7 separate regions of the Homo sapiens genome follow, and regions 1, 2, 3, 4, 5 and 6 are each linked to region 7. The links are contacts of gene promoters, found by promoter capture Hi-C in blood cells and fetal thymus (Javierre and others, 2016). All regions are on one chromosome and are shown on one strand. The core of a region is centred on a gene start or on the middle of the fragment in contact, and the rest is flanking DNA. Distances in the headings are between cores, read along the strand shown. Region 1 overlaps CEP350 (centrosomal protein 350). Region 2 overlaps RGS2 (regulator of G protein signaling 2). Region 3 holds the start of QSOX1 (quiescin sulfhydryl oxidase 1). Region 4 overlaps LOC101928933 (a long non-coding RNA gene). Region 5 overlaps TOR1AIP1 (torsin 1A interacting protein 1). Region 6 overlaps TOR1AIP1 (torsin 1A interacting protein 1). Region 7 holds the start of TPR (translocated promoter region, nuclear basket protein).

Evidence for each region. The method cuts DNA at HindIII sites, captures the fragments that hold promoters and counts their contacts. A CHiCAGO score of 5 or more calls a contact.
Region 1: a contact is called between a fragment that was not itself captured here and the fragment with the promoter of TPR in region 7, in 1 of 17 cell types (total CD4 T cells). The highest score is 5.1, in total CD4 T cells.
Region 2: a contact is called between a fragment that was not itself captured here and the fragment with the promoter of TPR in region 7, in 1 of 17 cell types (naive B cells). The highest score is 5.7, in naive B cells.
Region 3: the fragment with the promoter of QSOX1 here is called in contact with the fragment with the promoter of TPR in region 7 in 1 of 17 cell types (monocytes); the score reaches 5.9 in monocytes.
Region 4: a contact is called between a fragment that was not itself captured here and the fragment with the promoter of TPR in region 7, in 1 of 17 cell types (total CD4 T cells). The highest score is 11.9, in total CD4 T cells.
Region 5: a contact is called between a fragment that was not itself captured here and the fragment with the promoter of TPR in region 7, in 1 of 17 cell types (total CD4 T cells). The highest score is 7.0, in total CD4 T cells.
Region 6: a contact is called between a fragment that was not itself captured here and the fragment with the promoter of TPR in region 7, in 4 of 17 cell types (naive CD8 T cells, non-activated CD4 T cells, total CD4 T cells and 1 more). The highest score is 10.2, in naive CD8 T cells.

The regions. Positions count from the first base shown.
Region 1 is chr1:180,046,248-180,048,947 of GRCh38, reverse strand. It overlaps CEP350 (centrosomal protein 350), which reads right to left. Exons shown (of 38, transcript NM_014810.5): 22 at 243-412. Among named protein-coding and RNA genes, the nearest start is that of CEP350, 93 kb to the right of the region's middle. The HindIII fragment of the contact is 503 bases long and covers 1,091-1,593 here.
Region 2 is chr1:192,809,993-192,812,692 of GRCh38, reverse strand. It overlaps RGS2 (regulator of G protein signaling 2), which reads right to left. Exons shown (of 5, transcript NM_002923.4): 2 at 2,426-2,527; 3 at 2,262-2,323; 4 at 1,546-1,712; 5 at 418-1,291. The coding sequence ends at 1,097. Among named protein-coding and RNA genes, the nearest start is that of RGS2, 2.3 kb to the right of the region's middle. RefSeq lists a silencer at 2,401-2,460. The HindIII fragment of the contact is 2,270 bases long and covers 168-2,437 here.
Region 3 is chr1:180,153,465-180,156,164 of GRCh38, reverse strand. It overlaps QSOX1 (quiescin sulfhydryl oxidase 1), which reads right to left and starts at 1,296. Exons shown (of 12, transcript NM_002826.5): 1 at 993-1,296. The coding sequence starts at 1,257. It overlaps LOC105371636 (a long non-coding RNA gene), which reads left to right and starts at 1,327. Exons shown (of 2, transcript XR_001738314.3): 1 at 1,327-2,166. RefSeq lists an enhancer at 1,022-1,121 and a silencer at 1,302-1,621. The HindIII fragment of the contact is 9,170 bases long and covers 1-2,700 here.
Region 4 is chr1:179,942,881-179,945,580 of GRCh38, reverse strand. All of the region lies in intron 1 of LOC101928933 (a long non-coding RNA gene), which reads left to right. Among named protein-coding and RNA genes, the nearest start is that of CEP350, 11 kb to the left of the region's middle. The HindIII fragment of the contact is 162 bases long and covers 1,200-1,361 here.
Region 5 is chr1:179,906,843-179,909,542 of GRCh38, reverse strand. It overlaps TOR1AIP1 (torsin 1A interacting protein 1), which reads right to left. Exons shown (of 10, transcript NM_015602.4): 7 at 1,679-1,720; 8 at 870-938. Among named protein-coding and RNA genes, the nearest start is that of TOR1AIP1, 26 kb to the right of the region's middle. RefSeq lists a silencer at 505-707. The HindIII fragment of the contact is 7,492 bases long and covers 1-2,700 here.
Region 6 is chr1:179,889,722-179,892,421 of GRCh38, reverse strand. All of the region lies in intron 3 of TOR1AIP1 (torsin 1A interacting protein 1), which reads right to left. Among named protein-coding and RNA genes, the nearest start is that of TOR1AIP1, 8.8 kb to the right of the region's middle. The HindIII fragment of the contact is 2,159 bases long and covers 242-2,400 here.
Region 7 is chr1:186,373,858-186,376,557 of GRCh38, reverse strand. It overlaps TPR (translocated promoter region, nuclear basket protein), which reads left to right and starts at 1,305. Exons shown (of 51, transcript NM_003292.3): 1 at 1,305-1,680. The coding sequence starts at 1,530. It overlaps ODR4 (odr-4 GPCR localization factor homolog), which reads right to left and starts at 720. Exons shown (of 14, transcript NM_017847.6): 1 at 584-720. RefSeq lists enhancers at 691-880, 1,051-1,100, 1,261-1,560 and a silencer at 2,121-2,170. The HindIII fragment of the contact is 6,872 bases long and covers 1-2,700 here.

The DNA of each region.
Region 1 (2,700 bases), core at 93-2,592, 6.3 Mb after region 7:
ATAGGCTGTGCCACCAAGCCTGGCTAATTTTTAATTTTTTTGTAGCGACAGAGGTCTCCCTATGTTTCCCTGGCTGGTTTCAAACTCCTAGGCTCAAGCAATTCTCCCAGCTCAGCCTCCCAAAGTGCTGGAATTACTGGCATGAGCCACCACATCCAGCTTATTTGCCACTTTATAACAAGGATCACCTTTCCTCTGGTTTCTGAACAAATGATTACACATTTATTTGCAAAGAAAGTTACCTTTTTCATCAGGAAGAGATGGAACACTATCACTTCGTAGAGAATCATCTGCAGCAGTCTGAACCTGTTCATCAATGGAACTCTCTATCTTTTCACCATTAAGTTTCTTCTCATTTTCCTTACAAGATGGAACTGAAGGACTTTCTTGGCGGCTGCTACCACTGCTACTTCTTTTTATGGATACATGGAAACAACAACAACAAAATTAACAAAATAAGGATTATAGCTTCAAAGTAAACTTATTTGGCCAAATGACTGTACTTTATAGTCAAGATAAAAATGAAGAAAGATGTAATATAAAACAGAAAAAGCTAAGTAACATAAGTCTGAGAATATATTGGAAAAGATGAGAAAGATGAGTAGGAGAGAGGAAGGTTTCACTTTTAAATAATAATAATAGGCAGTGTTGTTAGGTTATCACTCCCTTTTTTCCTTTCATTTCAAAATCAAACTTCTGGGAAAGGGAGCTACTACTCACTGTTTCCACTTCTTTACTTTTCATTAACATCACGATTTATCACAATCTGCTTCCACCCCAACTGCTCTACTAAAACTGTTCTAAATAAGCTTAATCTATACTTTGAATTGCCAAATCCAATACATAATTTATTGCTTTGCAATATTAGATGTTGACCATATCTCCTTCTTTAAAAGCTCTACTTGCTAAATAAAATGTAGTAAAATGTTAGAATAATCTGGATGAAAGATATTTGAGGACTTTCTATTATTCTTGCAACTTTTCTATAAGCTTGAAATCATGTCAAAATTAAATGTTAAATAAAAGAGCCCTCCCTTCTTATATCCTATGATTTTACTCTCACCTGCTTTTCCCATCTCTCTAACAAGCTTTCCTTGTTTCTTTCATTTGCTTTAAATTTTTCTGTCTTTCCTTAAAATTGATGGTTCTGTTTTGGTCCTTTTCTTTTCTTTTTTTTTTTTTTTTTTTTTGAGGAGTTTCATTCTGTCGCCCAGGCTGGAGTGCAGTGGCACAATTTGGTTCACTGCAACCTCCACTTCCTGGATTCAAGAGATTCTCCTGCCTCAGCCTCCCGAGTAGCTAGGATTACAGGCATGTGCCACAACACCTGGCTAATTTTTTTTTTGTATTTTTAGTAGAGATGGGGCTTCGCTATGTTGGCCAGGCTGATCTTGAACTCCTAACCTCAGATGATCCACCTGCCTCGGTCTCCCAAAGTGCTGGGATTACAGATGTAAGCCACCATGCTGGCCCTCTTTCTCTTTTATATTACATATTCTCCTTGGGCAATCTTAACCATAACTTCAACTACTATCATTTAGAGTGAGCCTCAAATTTGTATCATTATCTTTGCCCTTCCCTTGATTTTAAGCTTCAAGTATTGAAATGCCATGTGAACTTCTGATTTTGGCTATTCCTCAGCCAACAAACGAAACGTATATTCCCCCAAGCTTTCTCCTCCTTACATTTCTTGGTTTATTCATTCATTACACAAGCCAGGTTAATATACTTAGGATCCTCAGCACATGCTTATTTCCTCTTCCAAAATGCCCTTGCTGCTGTGTCTGCCTAACGACCTATGGAATTCAAGAATCAGTTCAAGTGTTATTTCTAAGAAACTCCATGGATCCCACCCCAACTCTCAAGGAAGCTTTGGTCACTTCTGTCCCTGTGTTCATACTGTTTTTTTGTGTATATTTCTATGACAGTACTTATCAGAATATAATGCAATTGTTTGGTTTAATAAGTTTTTGAAAACATAAATCTTCTAATAAAGCAATAAGGTAAAAGATGTAATGCAGCACACAGTAGGGACTTTCAAGTCAGAAGGACATGGGGTTGAATCCCAATTCTACCAATTAGTAGTTATATGCTAATCATTCACTCAATAAACTTGTAGTAGATTGCCTACTGTGTGCTAGGTACTTTGCTAAGTTCTGGTGATACAAGTATGCATGGTCCCCCCTAAGATGGCTATAACAAAAAAAACAACAAGCATTGGTGAGGACTGTAGAAAAATTTTACGTGGTGGGAAAATAGTATAAAATGCTGCAGTTACTTTGGAAAATAGTTTTGCAATTCTTCAAAAATTTAAACATAGAGCTACCATACATGACCCAGCAATTCCATTCCTAAATATATACTCAAGAGAAATGAAAACATATCCACACAAAAGGTTATATGTGAATGTTCACAGCATTACTTATAATAGTTAAAAAGTGGAAACAACCCAAATGTCCACCAACTGATGAATGGATAAATAAAATGTGGGATATCCAGGCAATAGAATATAATTTGGCCATATAAACAAAGTAGTGATACATGCTACAACATGCATGAAACTTGAAAACATCATGCTAAGTGAAAGAAGTCAGTTACAAAGGGCCACATACTGTAATGATGCCATTTATATAAAAAATCCAGAATAGGCAAATCCATAGAGAACGGAGATAGGAAACAGATTAGTGGTTGCCAGAGGAG
Region 2 (2,700 bases), core at 53-2,552, 6.4 Mb before region 7:
GAAAGTAAATAAAGACAGGCATACATTGACCTTATTTGGCTTCTTTCTTCATTTGAGAAGCTTAATTATGTGAATAATTTTTGTGCTTGTCTCCATTACATTTACTTCTCATATTTAGCTGGTACTTAGATACAGAATCCTTTAGATCAGTGTTTCATTAACAAGCTTGATTTTTTTTTAAGATTAGAAAGCATAAATGCAGTGGTTCTAAGGATGTGACTTCCTTAGGTCTGCATAATGCTTATAGGTTTTAAAAAAAGAATTATCTGTCTGCAACTATCATTTCTCAGTTCTGAAGACTGTCAATTCTCACTGGGCAGGCACAAAAACTGAAATGTCTTTTACTATAAAGATGTTTTCCCTTTATCTGCCACATTTCCAGTTATCAAAAATAAAATCACATCTAGACTCCAAGTGTTCAATATTATTTATCAAAATAAATTTATTAAAAGTATTCAAAGACCACTTCAAAGTGTAGCTGCCTTCAAGACAGATTTTTGGCACTCATAACGGACACTGCAGTTTTCAACACCATAGCACTCATTCTATTTCACACATCATTTTTAACAATGCAAACACGGACCATTTCAGTTTTAGCATTACATGAGACAACAGTACTGATGATCTGTGGTCATAAGAACTTCAATACCGTTGCACATAGTAAACACTTCACTGTTACTGAATCCTAAACTAAAACTACTATGTGGTAACATGGATCGATTTAGGGAAAGATGTACAACCAGCTACCTAAGGCCACATAATCCCAGATCTATTGATTTTAAATGCTTTTGGACCAACAGTATTACATTGTCTCTTTCATCATCTTACATTCCTGCTTTTCAGAGTGAGACACCACGTTCAGACCACCTATTCCCTTCTTGCGTTCTGTACACAGTGAGGGAAGCTGTTCTGATACCAGCTTCTCCTAGTCAGTTACTGGCTTCCTGATTCACTACCCAACTTTGAATCAATAGTTCTGAGTGATGTTTCCTGAACACCCAGGCTGAATTCAAGGTCAGTCTTTATGGCAGGTCACAGTCCTTCCCCTCAGGAAAAAGAATGAAATGTCCTCCATTTCTGGGCTCCCTTTTACATTTCATGTAGCATGAGGCTCTGTGGTGATTTGTGGCTTTTTACACAAGTCCTGGTAGAATTCTGACTCCAAGAAACGAGGATAAGAGTTGTTCTCCATCAAGCTGTATACCCTTTTCTGGGCAGTTGTAAAGCAGCCACTTGTAGCTTCTTGTATATTCTGGGCAATCAGAGTTTTGGTTTGAAAATCTATGTTTATCTGAAATAAAACAAAAAAGTTGTTTATTTGGTATTCAGAGTTAAAGATTAAAATTTAGTATTTGAAAACAAAAAATAAAAATTATGTGTGATTAGCTTTACTAGCTAAGTCACAGGAGAACTTTAACATAACTGAAAGCTACAACGTGGAGGGACTTTTTACCCCTCCTAGCCCGCTTTGTCCTTGATTACTTTGTTTCACTTTTGTGCTAAAGATGTCCAGATTGTGCTGAAATTAGGAACTTGTTTCCTTACCTCTTTTGGAGCTTCCTTTTCTATGAAGTCAGTATATATTTTCCTTGCTTTTGAGGACAGCTTTTGGGGTGATTTGGTTTTTTTGAAGTCTTCACAGGCCAGCCAGAATTCAATATTTTCTTCACAGAATTCCGACTTTAAAAAAGCCCTGAATGCAGCAAGACCATCTGAAGGGGGGAGAAAAGAGAGCATGCAGAATGTGAAGAACTGAGAGACCAAATGATTCCTTATGTTTCTCCTATCCCTCACATTTTAATTATTTCTAAATGAATTTTCTAGATTTCGCTCAAACCTGTAATTCTCAAAATTTAGCTTTTTAAAGACTAAGATACCAGTAGGCAAAAGGCTTATGTTGGCACTCTGCTGCAAAAATATAAGTACTTTGCTGTCAATGCAAAGTAAATATTTATAGGGGAGCCATAAATTCTCTGGGAACTAAGCCTCTTGAAAACATTGTATGCAATGGAAAAACTGACTCAACCTTAACTATAAGCAACTGCCACTTTAATTTGTTTAGGCTGATTTTCTTCCCCACCTGGAGAGAATATATGCATTTATTTGTTAAACCCTGGGAAATAAAGGAAAGAAAAACAGGCTTTATCCTATAGTGACTGCAGTCTAATCCCCCTCAGGCAAGCTGCTCTTTTGTTAGGTGGACGCAGCCTTTCCAGGCTTTTGCGATGTTAGCAATGGCTCAAGCTCAAGAGTTAACTTACATTTGCTGGCTAGCAGCTCGTCAAATGCTTCTGACCACAGCTGTGCTTCCTCAGGAGAAGGCCTGCAAGAGAGGTTCTGTATGTTAGCTTACGCACATCAGAGTTCCCCTTTTCAGTTCAGCAGCTAACTATTGATATTTGCAAGCACAGGATTCTCAACTTACTTGATGAAAGCTTGCTGTTTGCTTTTTTTGCCGGTTTTGGGCTTCCCAGGAGTAGAGGAATTTTGTAAGAAGTAGCTCAAACGGGTCTTCCAATCTTTTAAACTAAAACAAAAAATTAAAAAGATAATTACTAACTAGCAACACTTGAATATGCTACTGCAGCTGAACGCATTTTTACCAAATAAAGTCACCCAGTAACTAGAGACAAACCGCATAAGGCAAAGCAAGAACTCTTCAAATAAGTCTTATCCACCTAACATTTAAACCTCATGTAC
Region 3 (2,700 bases), core at 47-2,546, 6.2 Mb after region 7:
ACTTAGTAAGGTGCCTGAAATGATAGGTGCTCCGTAAATATTAATTACTATTATTACCATATTTCCTCGACTCTAAGTCTTAAGTGTTTCAAAATTTTAGCATTTCTGTAATAGAGTTCACCTTCAAATCTTTATACATGTAGTGGTTTTTTCCTATCCTTCTACCCCTTGGGCTGTCATAAAATGAACAGTGTGTCTCACAGTTGATGGTGTCTTGGAATTCAGGAAATATAGTTTTGGTGCCCCAACCAGGGATTGGGAACATGGAGCAAGAGCCAAACACGCACCAAAGGCCTCTGGGTGCATGGGTTTAAAATATAAGGGTCTGAGCGGGGGAAGAGAGAGAAGGATGTGGCCCAGAAGCTAAGGAGCTGGAGGCGGCAGGTCAGGAGAGGCCCGGAACAGAGATAGGAAAACTGCCAGGTGGACATACCCACATCAAAGACAAAAATGAGAAAGGAAGTCTATGTACCACCTGGTCAACCAGTCGAGGGAGTGGAGAAAGGTGGCAGGGAGGCAAAATGGATGTCCGTTCCCTTTTCTCCCCAGCACTGACCCACAGCAGCTAGGGAACCTGGCAGGAAGATGACATGGGTCCCTGGACGAGAGGAAGAGGACTGCCACAAGGCTGGCCCAGGAAACGGTAAGGTGTCAGCGGACCATGCGGAGGAAGGAACAAAGGAGACCTCTCGCAGGGAAGGAGGCAGTAACCTGGCGGGGGACGAACCGGGCGAGCAGGGCAGGTCTGGGGGCCCAGGCCGCGGAGAGGGAAAGAAGCTCGGGATGAGGGCCAAGAGGAAAAGGCAAGGGAGCGGGAGGCAAAAATGGAGCTGAGAAACATGAAGGTGGTGGGCGTGGGATGCGCGGAGAGGAAGAGGTGGGCGGAGGTGACTGGAAGAGGGACGCGCTCCCGGAGTAGGAGGCTGCCCACCGGGCAGGTGGAGGGGTCCGGGCGGCGGGGCACGGGGGAGCGGGCCGCCCCCGCTTCTCACCTTTGACGTCTTCGGCCAGCGCCTTCCACGTCGGGGCGAAGGCGATGCAGTGGCCGCACCAGGAGGCGAAGAACTCCACGGCCCAGGCGCTGCGGGAGCCCAGCACCGCGCCGCGCACCGTGTCCGCCTGCAGCAGCGTCAGCGGGTCGGAAGGCGAATAGAGCGCCGACCGCGGGGCCGCGTTAGCGCCGGGAACCGCGAGCAGCCACAGCAGCAGCAGCAGCAGCGACGGCGGCGGCCCGGAGCCGCTGTTGCACCTCCTCATCCTCGGCGCTGCGCTCACCACCACACGCAAGCACCGGATGAGTCGGGTCCCGGCGCCGCGGCACCGCCTGCCTCCGCCCGCAAGGAGGAGCCACGTGGCCCCGCCCCTGAGCCCCCGCCCCCGAGCCCCCGCCCCCGAGGCCGGCCCAGCCACCCCGCCCCGCCGGCCGCTCCTGGGCGCGGGAGCGGGCGGGGCTGAGCTTGTTGCAGGGGCTGGCCCTGGCCGGGTGGTGAGCCATCCTTTCGCGGTCCGCCGAGGCCTCGGAGCAGCGCGACCCGGGTTCCCGCCTCAGGCCCCAGGAGGCGAGGTGTACAGTCCGGTAAAGGAATGGAGCGCCCGCCGAGCGGTCGCTGCGGGGGTAGCCTCGCGGAGGTTGTTTGGCCTCTCACGGCCCCCGTATCCAACGGAAGAGGAGTCCGTTGGAATAGACGACCCGGATTTCGGCTGTTGTAGGGCAGTTCCTGGGCTCCCGCGGAGCGATGAGACGTTGTGAATTAGATGTGAGAAGAGGGACGCTTGGTCTGCGACCACCAAGACCCCACAGGATCGATGCACCCACCCCTGCTGATGACCATGACCATCTAAAGGGGAACATCATTTGAGGGGCCCTACTCATGGATCAGAAGCCCCTCTTCACTGTGGGGTGTGCTGGGTTGGCGGGCAGTTGCCGTGGAATCAGTTTCCTCAGGACCCATATCTGACCACCCTCATAAGGTTGTCAGGGCGATTCCAACATTCGGGGTTCCCAGCAGCCCAGATCCCCCACATCCAGCTCTTCAGCCTACTCAGAGCTCTCCACGCTCACTCACATGTCCCTCTCGCAAGTAGCCCGATCAACTCACCTGGTGTCATGGGCACTAAGGTGTTAATGGATTTTCTCTGGTCACCTTTGCAGCTCCACTGTTTTGAGTGAGTTATTTTAAGGGGAGAAGGTGCTCCTCAGACGGTTGTCACAGTGATATTTTTCCTTTGTGACTGCCAGGTTAGCCCCTTTCACCTGTAAGAGCTTTGAGCCTAGATTTGTTATTCATTTATTCAAGTTTTACTGAGTGGTGTCATGCCAGGCACTTGTTTAGGTATAAGGATAAGGCAGTAAACAAAATATAGACTCTAGGGACGTGGAACTTACATTCCAGTGGGGGTAAAGAGATGATACATAAGTAAATGTAGATCAGATGGTGACCGATGTTATGAAGAAATGTAGACTGGGGTAAGAATAGAGTGGCAGAGGAGGTGCTATTTTACACACGAAGATCAGGGACAGGTCTACCCTTAATATTTGCAAGAACTGAGTCAGTAGTACAAATGGAGGCCCACATATCATGTCTACATATTTTAAAACTACAAATTAAACGGTGATGTAAAATTCCTATCCTTTTATCTTGACATGTATACCTTCATCATAATCTGGAAGGCCACATTTAAGTTTAGGATTCTTGGACC
Region 4 (2,700 bases), core at 31-2,530, 6.4 Mb after region 7:
ATAAGATAAAGAACTCATGCAAGGATGTAAATCAACTATGTCACTAAATATACTATTTAGGGATGAGCTGACTTTTTTTTTTTTTTTGAGACGGAGTCTCACTCTGTCCCCCAGGCTGGAGTGCAGTGGCGGGATCTCGGCTCACTGCAACCTCCGCCCTCCGGGTTCACGCCATTCTCCTGCCTCAGCCTCCCCAGTAGCTGGGACTACAGGCGCCCGCCACCACGCCCAGCTAATTTTTTGTATTTTTAGTAGAGATGGGGTTTCACCGTGTTAGCCAGGATGGTCTCGATCTCCTGACCTCGTGATCTGCCCGCCTCGGCGTCCCAAAGTGCTGGGATTACAGGCGTGAGCCACCGTGCCCAGCCAAGCTGACTTTTTTTAGATAAGACTTCCTTAATGAAGGAGACAGTATGATGATATATATTTTTACACAAGCTTCTTATCTCACTGCAGACTTGGATTAAATGGTTCGCCGCCGTAAGAAACTCACCCAGGTGCACAAGGAGACAAGTACAAGGAATTTTACAGAAGCATCGTTTATAATAGCAAAAATAGGAAATAACATGTCCATCAATAAAAGAATGGGTAGTAAACTGAGGAATATTCATACAATGAAAGACCAAGAAACAGTGAAAATAAATTTAAGGATGTATCACACAAATATAATTTTTAAAAAGCAGATTGCAGGCCAGACGCGGTGGCTCACGCCTGTAATCCCACAACTTTGGGAGGCTGAGGTGGGTGGATCATCTGAGATCGGGAGTTTGAGACCAGCCTCACCAACATGGAGAAACCCTATCTCTACCAAAAATACAAAAAATTAGCTAGGCATGGTGGTGCATGCCTATAATCCCAGCTACTCGGGAGGCTGAGACAGGAGAATCACTTGAACCCAGGAGGCCGAGGTTGTGCTGAGCCGAGATCGCACCATTGCACTCCAGCCTGGGCAACAAGAGCAAAACTCCATCTCAAAAAAACAAAAAAATTAGCTGGGTGTGGTGGTGGGCGCCTGTAGTCCCAGCTACTCGGGAGGCTGAGGCAGGAGAATCGCTTGAACCCGGGAGGCGGAGGTGGCAGTGAGCCGAGATCATGCCACTGCACTCCAGCCTGGCGACAGAGCGAGACTCCGTCTCAAAAAATAAAAATAAAAAGGTTGCAGATAGATATATATAGTATGATGCCACTTCCATAAAGCTTAAAAGCATGCACAGTACTGGTATAGATTATTTAGGAACACATACAAATGTAGTAAAAGATTTTTAAGTGCTGAGGAATAAAAAATACTAAATTCAGAAAAGTGATTACCTCCTGAGGGAGCAGAAGAGATTAATATGTGGTAGGGGTGAACATAGGAAGCTTCAACTATGTTGGTAACATTTGATTTCTTAAGCTAGGTGTGGATACACAGATGATTGTATTATTATCTTTGTAGCTTTTTTATTTTCAAAATATTAAATAATAAATTTTTAAAATAAAAATAAATAATAGAAATTTTAATATACTAGTGGGGAATGGGAGAAAGAACAGCCAAGAAGGAGGCATAAAGGTTACAAGAAAATAACTTCACACAGTTGAAATGATATCCTACTGATTTGAGGCTTAAGAAACTTTTCCTCTTTGTAACCCTGGACAGACAAATACAGTTGTTATTTTTATCGAAGTTTAAGCCAAAATTTAAGAAAAAACAGCAGCAACTACCTTGAAGGTAAATTAGCAGCAGTTCCAGTAAGAAGTAACTACCCCTAGGGAACGGTAGGGCAGAATCAACTCTACCCATCCTGGCTCTAAGCTACTTTTTCTTTTATTTATTTATTTATTTATTTATTTTTGGATTTATTTTTATTTTATTTTTTTATTATACTTTAAGTTTTAGGGTACATGTACACATTGTGCAGGTTAGTTACATATGTATACATGTACCATGCTGGTGCGCTGCACCCACTAACTTGTCATCTAGCATTAAGTATATCTCCCAATGCTATCCCTCCCCCCTCCCCCCACCCCACAACAGTCCCCAGAGTGTGATATTCCCCTTCCTGTGTCCATGTGATCTCATTGTTCAATTCCCACCTATGAGTGAGAATATGCAGTGTTTGGTTTTTTGTTCTTGCGATAGTTTACTGAGAATGATGATTTCCAATTTCATCCATGTCCCTACAAAGGACGTGAACTCATCATTTTTTATGGCTGCATAGTATTCCATGGTGTATATGTGCCACATTTTCTTAATCCAGTCTATCATTGTTGGACATTTGGGTTGGTTCCAAGTCTTTGCTATTGTGAATAATGCCGCAATAAACATATGTGTGCATGTGTCTTTATAGCAGCAGGATTTATAGTCCTTTGGGTATATACCCAGTAATGGGATGGCTGGGTCAAATGGTATTTCTAGTTCTAGATCCCTGAGGAATCGCCACACTGACTTCCACAATGGTTGAACTAGTTTACAGTCCCGCCAACAGTGTAAAAGTGTTCCTATTTCTCCACATCCTCTCCAGCACCTGTGGTTTCCTGACTTTTTAATGATTGCCATTCTAACTGGTGTGAGATGGTATCTCATTGTGGTTTTGATTTGCATTTCTCTGATGGCCAGTGATGATGAGCATTTTTTCATGTGTTTTTTGGCTGCATAAGCTAAGGTACTTTTTCAAACCAGCCAAGAGATGTCATCTTCTTGCCTCAACCCATCCCCACCTC
Region 5 (2,700 bases), core at 85-2,584, 6.5 Mb after region 7:
GCTACTTGGGAGGCTGAGGCAGGAGAATTGCTTGAACCCGGGAGGCAGAGGTTGCAGTGAACTGAGGTTGCACCACTGTACTCCAGCCTGGGCAACACAGCAAGACTCCATCTCAAAAACAAAACAAAACAAAACAAAACAAAACAAAACAAAACAAAAAACAGAAAAAAAACCCTAAACATGAAAATATAACTTGTGCATTTCAGCCTTTATTATGTAAAATTATGAGTATACAAAGCTGTTCCAAAATCTGCTAAAAGCAAAAAATAAGTATTGTCAAAAGAGTAGAATTTCATTATTGTATACAGACTGTATTGCTGCTATAACTGACAGCTTGTTAAAATCCATCAATCTCTGGTTTTCTCTTTTTTTTTCTTTTTTTCAGATGGAGTCTCGCTCTGTCGCCCAGGCTGGAGTGCAGTGGTGCAATCTTGGCTCACTGCAAGCTCCGCCTCCTGGGTTCACACCATTCTCCTGCTTCAGCCTCCCGAGTAGCCTCCCGCCGCCACGCCCAGCTAATTTTTCTTTTTTAAATATTTTTAGTAGAGACGAGGTTTCACCGTGTTAGCCAGGATGGTCTCGATCTCCTGACCTCGTGATCCACCCACCTCGGCCTCCCAAAGTGCTGGGATTACAGGCGTGAGCCACCGCACCTGGCCAATCTCTGGTTTTCTCACGCCACTATTTACATTCTACACCCAGCCCATGTGCTGCCAGTCCAAGAAATTACTAAACTAGTAATCATAGCTGTACTTTATTAGTGAAATCACAAACAACCTAAATGTTTATCTGAAGAACTAAATATTTTTGTCAAGAAAAACATAGCAAATACACAAGATTATTTCAATAACAGAGATTTATCTACTTACTTTGCATCCTGGTCCTTATTCTTGCAGTTTGTGGGGCCCATTCCTGGGGAGTTTTTTGATATCCTGAGCCTGAAGCAAATACATATATCAAAAGATAATTTCCCATACTTTGAAAGTTTATACCATATTCCAGTGTTATAAAATTAATCTATCAGAAAGACAAAATAAAGTAGGGGAAGAAAACAATAAAAGCAATAGTTTTATAAGTAAAAGATAATTTCAAAGGATCGTATCAGTGAGGATGAACCACTTCCTACAGCAAAGCAGGTAGCAAATAAATATATTATCACATAATACAAATTACTTGTGGTAAAATAGCCCTGAACACATTTCCATATCACAGAGTAATTATTATAGGTAGTACCAATCCGTGGTGAATTAAAAAGGTAAAGAGGGGTAAAATGACTTAAAATCTTATTACAACTTTTGTTGGGAGAATAAGGCAAGGTTAGAATTGATTGACTGAGGCTGGGTGCGGTGGCTCACACCTGTAATTCCAGCACTTTGGGAGGCCGAGGCAGGTGGATCATGAGGTCAGGAGATCAAGACCATCCTGGCTAACACAGTGAAACACCGTCTCTACTAAAAATACAAAAAATTAGCCGGGCGTGGTGGCGGGCGCCTGTAGTCCCAGCTACTTGGGAGGCGGAGGCAGGAGAATCGCGTGAACCCAGGAGGTGGAGCTTGCAATGAGCCCAGATTGCACTCCAGCCTGGGCGACAGAGCAAGACATCGTCTCAAAAAAAAAAAAAAAAAAAAAGAGAAAAGAATTGATTGGCTGAAAAAAGAGCAGACAACCAACTACTTACTTAGCACTGAAGGTTGCTTATCATGAGCTGTGAAGTTTTGACCTGAAACAGAAAACAGGGATAAGGTCATAGAATACTTGAAAATAACAACAAAAAAGATGTTGCACAGACATTTTGCTTGTTTACTGTGGATACTAAAAACAAACAACAGACAAAAAACATTCTCTCATCAATTCCAAGCATATAAATATATAAAGTATATATATATAAAAAACATACATATACTATATATATACATATATATACATATATATATATATATATATATATAAAGTGTGTGTGTATTTCTTTCCCCCTCATTTCTAAACTTCAAAATGTTTAGGAATTGGGCAACAATAAGGAGTTAGTTTAGGATCAGTACCATCAAAATAAAAACTACATATAGTCATATATATCAAGTATAATTTTGTTTAATTCTTTTTTTTTTTTTTTTTTTGAGACAGGGTCTGACTCTGTCACCCAGGCTGGAATGCAGTGGCACAATCTCAGCTCACTGCAACCTCCGCTTCCCAGGTTCAAGATATTCTCCTGCCTCACCTTCCCAAGTACTTGGGATTACAGGTGTGCACCACCATGCCTGACCAAATTTTTTGTCTTTTTAGTAGAGACAGGGTTTCCCCATGTTGGCCAGGCTGGTCTCAAACTCCTGACCAGGGTTTCACCATGTTGGCCAGGCTGGTCTCAAATTCCTGACCTCAAATGCTCTGCCTGCCTCGCCCTCCCAAAGTGCTGGGATTACAGGCATGAGCCACCATGCCCAGCCAATTTTGCTTAATTCTTATGTGGTAGATGCTATTACTGTTCGTATTTTATAAATAAGGGAAAATCAGCTGGATGCGGTGGCTCATGCCTGTAATCCTAGCACTTTGGGAGGCCAAGGCAGGTGGATCATGAGGTCAGGAGATCGAGACCATCCTGGCTAACACGGTGAAACCCCGTCTCTACTAAATATATAAAAAATTAGCCAGGCGTGGTGGTGGGCGCCTGTAGTCCCAGCTACTCGGGAGGCTGAGGCAGAAGAA
Region 6 (2,700 bases), core at 72-2,571, 6.5 Mb after region 7:
GGCTCACTGCAACCTCTGCATCCTGGGTATAAGTGATTCTCCTGCCTCAGACTCTCAAGCAGCTGGGGTTACAGTGCACAGCACCACCACGCCTGGCTAATTTTGTACTTTTAGTAGAGACGGGGTTTTGCCATGCCAGCCAGGCTGGTCTTGAACTCCTGACCTCAGGTGATCTGCCCACCTCAGCCTCCCAAAGTGCTGGGATTATAGGCGTGAGCCACCACACCCAGCCTAAAAAGCTTTTTTAAGTCTCTAAAGAAGTGGCCTGAACTTAAGTGAAAGATGAATTAGAGGAAGGTACAATGATTTATAAAGAAAAATGAAGCGTTTCCCTTTTGGCTCATCTTCAAATTTAGAAAATAATTAAAATGTAAAAAAAACTAAGTCTAACAACATTCAATGTAGATTCATTTAAAACCACAAATCATGGTATGTCATGTCCTATAGCCAGGCAGACACTGAAATGAATTAAAACCCGTTCAACGAACGTATTACAGCAAAGGACACTGAACTCGCCGTGAACAACGTATCGAATTCACTTTCTAAATGAAGAAAGGGCCAGGTGTGGTGGCTCACGCCTACAATCCCAAAACTCTGGGAGGCCGAGGCAGGTGGATTGCTTGAGGTCAGGAGTTCGAGACCAGCCTGACCAACATGGTGAAACCCCATCTCTACTAAATATACAAAAATTAGCTGGGTGTCATGGTGGTCATCTGTAATCCCAGCTGCTTGAAAGGCTGAGGCAGGAGAATCACTTGAACCAGGGAGGCAGAAGTTGCAGTGGGCCAAGATCACGCCATTGCACTCCAGCCTCGGTGATAGAGCAAGAGCCTGTCTCGAGAAAATAAAAATAAATAAATAAATAAAAATAAAAAATAAAAATAAAAATCAAGGAGAAAGGCCGGGCGTGGTGGCTCATGCCTGTAATCCCAGCACTTTGGGAGGCCAAGTGGGGTAGATCACAAGGTCAGGGAGTTTGAAACCAGCCTGGCCAACATGGTGAAACCCTGTCTCTACTAAAAATACAAAACAAGTAGCTGGGCGTGGTGGTGGGCACCTGTAATCCCAGCTACTTGGGAGGCTGAGGCAGGAGAATTGCTTGAACCTGGGAGGCAGACGTTGCAGTGAGCCGAGATCGCACCACGGTACTACAGCCTGGGTGACAGAGCAAGGCTCTGTCTCAGAAAAACAAAAACAAAAAATAAATCAAGAGAAAAACCTTAATTGGTAAGTTGTTATCTCCTTTTTCCTAATAGTGTGAATTTAATGAAGACTAGCAGGACTAAATTGATTACATGTTTTTATATGAATTTAAGCAATAATATAGGCATAATTATAGACAACAAAAACCAAGGCTGTTTATGGGAGGTCCTAGTCATAGGGACTGGGTCCCCACAAACTGACATAATAAATTAGTATTCTCAAGCCAATGACTAGATATATATACTCTTGTATTCTATTAATCTGGACCCTCAAAGAGACCTTGTAAGAATTAGAGATAGGGTTGGGCGCAGTTGTGCATGCCAATAATCCCAGCACTTTGGGAGGCCAAAGCGGGTGGATTGCTAGAGCCCAGGAATTCGAGACTAGCCTGGGCAACATGGTGAAACCCCATCTCTATAAAAAACACAGGAATCAGCCAGGCATGGTGATGCATGACTGTAGTTCCAGCTACTCCAGAGGCTGAAGTAGGAGGCTCAGTTGAGCCTCCAGAGTAGCTGGGACTACAATAGGAGGAGGAGGCTGCAGTGAGCCAAGATCACGCCACCGCACTCCAGCCTGGGTGAGAGTGAGACCCTGCCTGGAAAAAAAAAAGAATAGAAATAAACGAACATAATTCACTCATTTTAGTATTTCTATTTGTTTTGTATGTCGAATCTGCAAGAGACATAGCAAGAGAATGATTAGGGTTGAAAAGGAAATGCATCATATGGTTCTTTACCACAGGTTCATTAACAAAACCTTAGTAGATCTTTACCACTGGAATACTTAAAAGGATAGTCAACTATCTATCGAAATAAATCAACATCATTCTTTGATAAAGAGAATGGGAAGGTACAGAAGCCTAATATAAAGATAAATACATTTCCTTTTTAGTTCCCATGATAAAGCATCTTTAAGAGCCAAAAAAACAAGGAAAATGAAGTAAAAGTAGACTGCTTGGAGTGTCTTTACTAGTTTTCTTCATAGTCATGAAATCAATTTCAGGGCAATACTTTTAATCGTTTTAGTCAAAAAGATAACTGAGGGAGGGACATTTTGTCGTTCTGTGCCACAGAGCTCCAGCTTGAATTTTTTGTTAGCAGTATACTGGAAGAATAAAGTCCCTGACCATAGTTTAAAATCATCATAAAGAATCACAGGAATATATAAGAAACAATCTCTTTAAAAAAGGAAGCTTTTTATATATGAATATAGAAATATCTCTGTATATATGTTAAGTAAAAATAAACAAGAAAGTGCAGAAAAGTAAGCCAGGTGCCGTGGCTCATGCCTGTAATCCCAGCACTCTGGGAGGCTGAGGTGGGTGGATCACTTACCCAGGCGTTTGAGATCATGTGGGTAACATGGCAAAACCCCATCTCTACAAAAGATACAAAAATCAGCCAGGCGTGGTGGTGGATGCATAGTCTCAGCTACTTGGCAGGCTAAGGCAGGAGGACTGCTTGAGCCAGAGAGATTGAGACTGCAGTCAGCCCT
Region 7 (2,700 bases), core at 56-2,555:
AGAAAAAGAATAAATTTCATATAAGAACTAAATCACCAATTCACAGAAGGCCCACGACTGTGGGAACTGCAGAGAGACGACACTGGGAATGCATTATTTACAATGAATAATTTAACAAATTCTTTCATAAGAGTAAACACGAAACAATCTACGGATTGAGCTTTAAAACTACAGAATTATGATCTGGAACCATACAAGTTCTGTTACTGTAGAAATTAACAATGTGTTTAAAAACTTCAGTTACAACAGTTTTCAATTTTAAAAACAATATAATGTTAGGTAACCGTTTCTGCAACGAAAAATTTAAAACATAGGCTACACTCAAAGTGCTACCGGTTTCTTTTAATTCTCCTCCTGAAGAATTAACCCGGGTCCTTAAATTCCCGGGTACTGAATCACTCAGTGCCACCTCCCCACCACCAAAAACCATTTAGGTACGCCGTTTCACACAAGGTAAGTTCGTCAGAAGTGTGTGCCGGAGTGACTGTCCATATGGTTCCAACACTGTCCCTTCCTTTTTCTCTTGAAAAGAGAGCACACACACACACACACACACACACACACTACACTTAGGCTGACTTACCTGTTTTCAGAATGTGCACTCGTGGCAGACAATTACCTCGGACGGTCTCTCCGCCGGAGATGGGGGTTTCGGGCCCAAGTACCAGCCTCTAGGGGCCAGATTCCCTCCGGTCTCAATTCACTGCCACTGAATTCATCAGAAAGCGACCTACTTCCCACACCTCACTTCCCACTCCAAAGCCAGGGACTTGGGAGTCAGGTGGCGCAGATTGATGACGTAAAAGCCCCCCCTCCCTTCCCCGCAGAGCCTCAGCCAAAGCGACTGCGGTCGCCACCCCGCCCCCTTCTGGGCGCCATAGAGAGCGTGGCGGTATCCCGGAGCCTGCCGTCCGGCCCTACCGGGACCGATGCCCTCTAGTGGCTCAGTGTCCAGAAGCCGCCAACGAGGACGATCCATGGCATCCCGGGGCTTTGACGGTAAGGTCACCAGCTCTTCAGGGAGGGCCAAGGGGTGACGAGTACGTATGTGGCGCCACCGTGCGGACAGCGGTTACGGGGCCGAGATAGGAGAGCCAGGGGAGCGGGGAGAAAAACGGAAGCTGAGAGGGCGGTGCAGCATTGGGCTCCCGGAAAAGAATGAGAAAAACACTACATTTCCCAGAGCCCTACAAGGCCTGAAGTGGGTGGAGCTGGAAGCCGGAAAATTGGGTGCGCAAGAGGATCAGGGATAGCCTCTGAGCTCGGGTTCCCAGGGTTCGTAGCTTCCAACGGCTGCGCGCGCACTTCGGTCGCGGGCGGTGAGGTGCTGTTGCTGAAACGCTGCCGCTGAGGGTGGACTCGATTTCCCAGGGTCCCGCCGCGGGAGTCTCCGGCGGGCGGGCGCGCGCGAGCCACCGAGCGAGGTGATAGAGGCGGCGGCCCAGGCGTCTGGGTCCTGCTGGTCTTCGCCTTTCTTCTCCGCTTCTACCCCGTCGGCCGCTGCCACTGGGGTCCCTGGCCCCACCGACATGGCGGCGGTGTTGCAGCAAGTCCTGGAGCGCACGGAGCTGAACAAGCTGCCCAAGTCTGTCCAGAACAAACTTGAAAAGTTCCTTGCTGATCAGCAATCCGAGATCGATGGCCTGAAGGGGCGGCATGAGAAATTTAAGGTGGAGAGCGGTAAGTGAGATGCTCTTTCCGTCCTTGGTTTTGGGCTCGACTCCCGCCCTTTGGGTCTGGTCTTCCCCCATCAAGTTGGCACTGGGTACCGCTCTGTTAACCTCACTTCCTGGGCTCTGTGGATATCCTGAGCCTTCGCTTTCCTGCTCCTTACAGTTTGATAAGAAGCCTTTGAAAAAAAAATCTGAATCTAAGTTCAGTAGCATTTTCTTTGTAGTTAGGGTAGGCTCATACAGGGACGCTTATTTTCCTTCGTCCGGCAGACGGGAAACAGACTTGATAGAGTCTGCGAACCCATCTCTCTAAGCCTAGAGTACCTTATATGTTTTGTTGCACTTCAACTGATAGTGGCTCCGCCCTATTTTCTAGGCACCTGCATTCTAGGCCTTTGCCAAATTGACCACTCTGTGCACTTGTTCTTAGTGTGTGCGTCGTCCCGTGGCTCCAGAACGAATCAGATGTTTACAAAAATGAATATTAGGTGCATAAGAGCGCTGGAAACACAGTGAATGTGCAGTACATAAATTTAATATATCTTGATTTCTCTTAAAAAGTTGGAGTTTGATAGAAAACATTAAAATTTTCTTGTAATTACCTAAAGTAGGCCTTTAAGTAAGAAAGTTACTGACAATAATGGCTTGAACATCCTTGAAAAAAATATGAAGAATATAGTCATTACCATTAGTAAAATACAAACTTCCCGTTAATGTGTTTTGGTTTACCATTTGTTTGGGGAGGTTCATACTGTTCTTGCTAAGTTGACTGGAAATTCTGAACAAGTTTTTACTTCAAAAAAAGTGTAACTGTCAAGCAGAATTGACCTTGAAAATTAGTTCTCTGATCCCAGAGCTGAGTATAGTACATTGCATTCTATTTATTAATTTGCACCATAAATATTGAATGTCTTACATGTTCCTGATACTATGCTGAACATGATATTCAATCCCTTCCCTTGGAAAGTTTACACATTTACTTTTACATATATTTAGTAGTTTTATGCTTTCAGGTAATATCTTGACT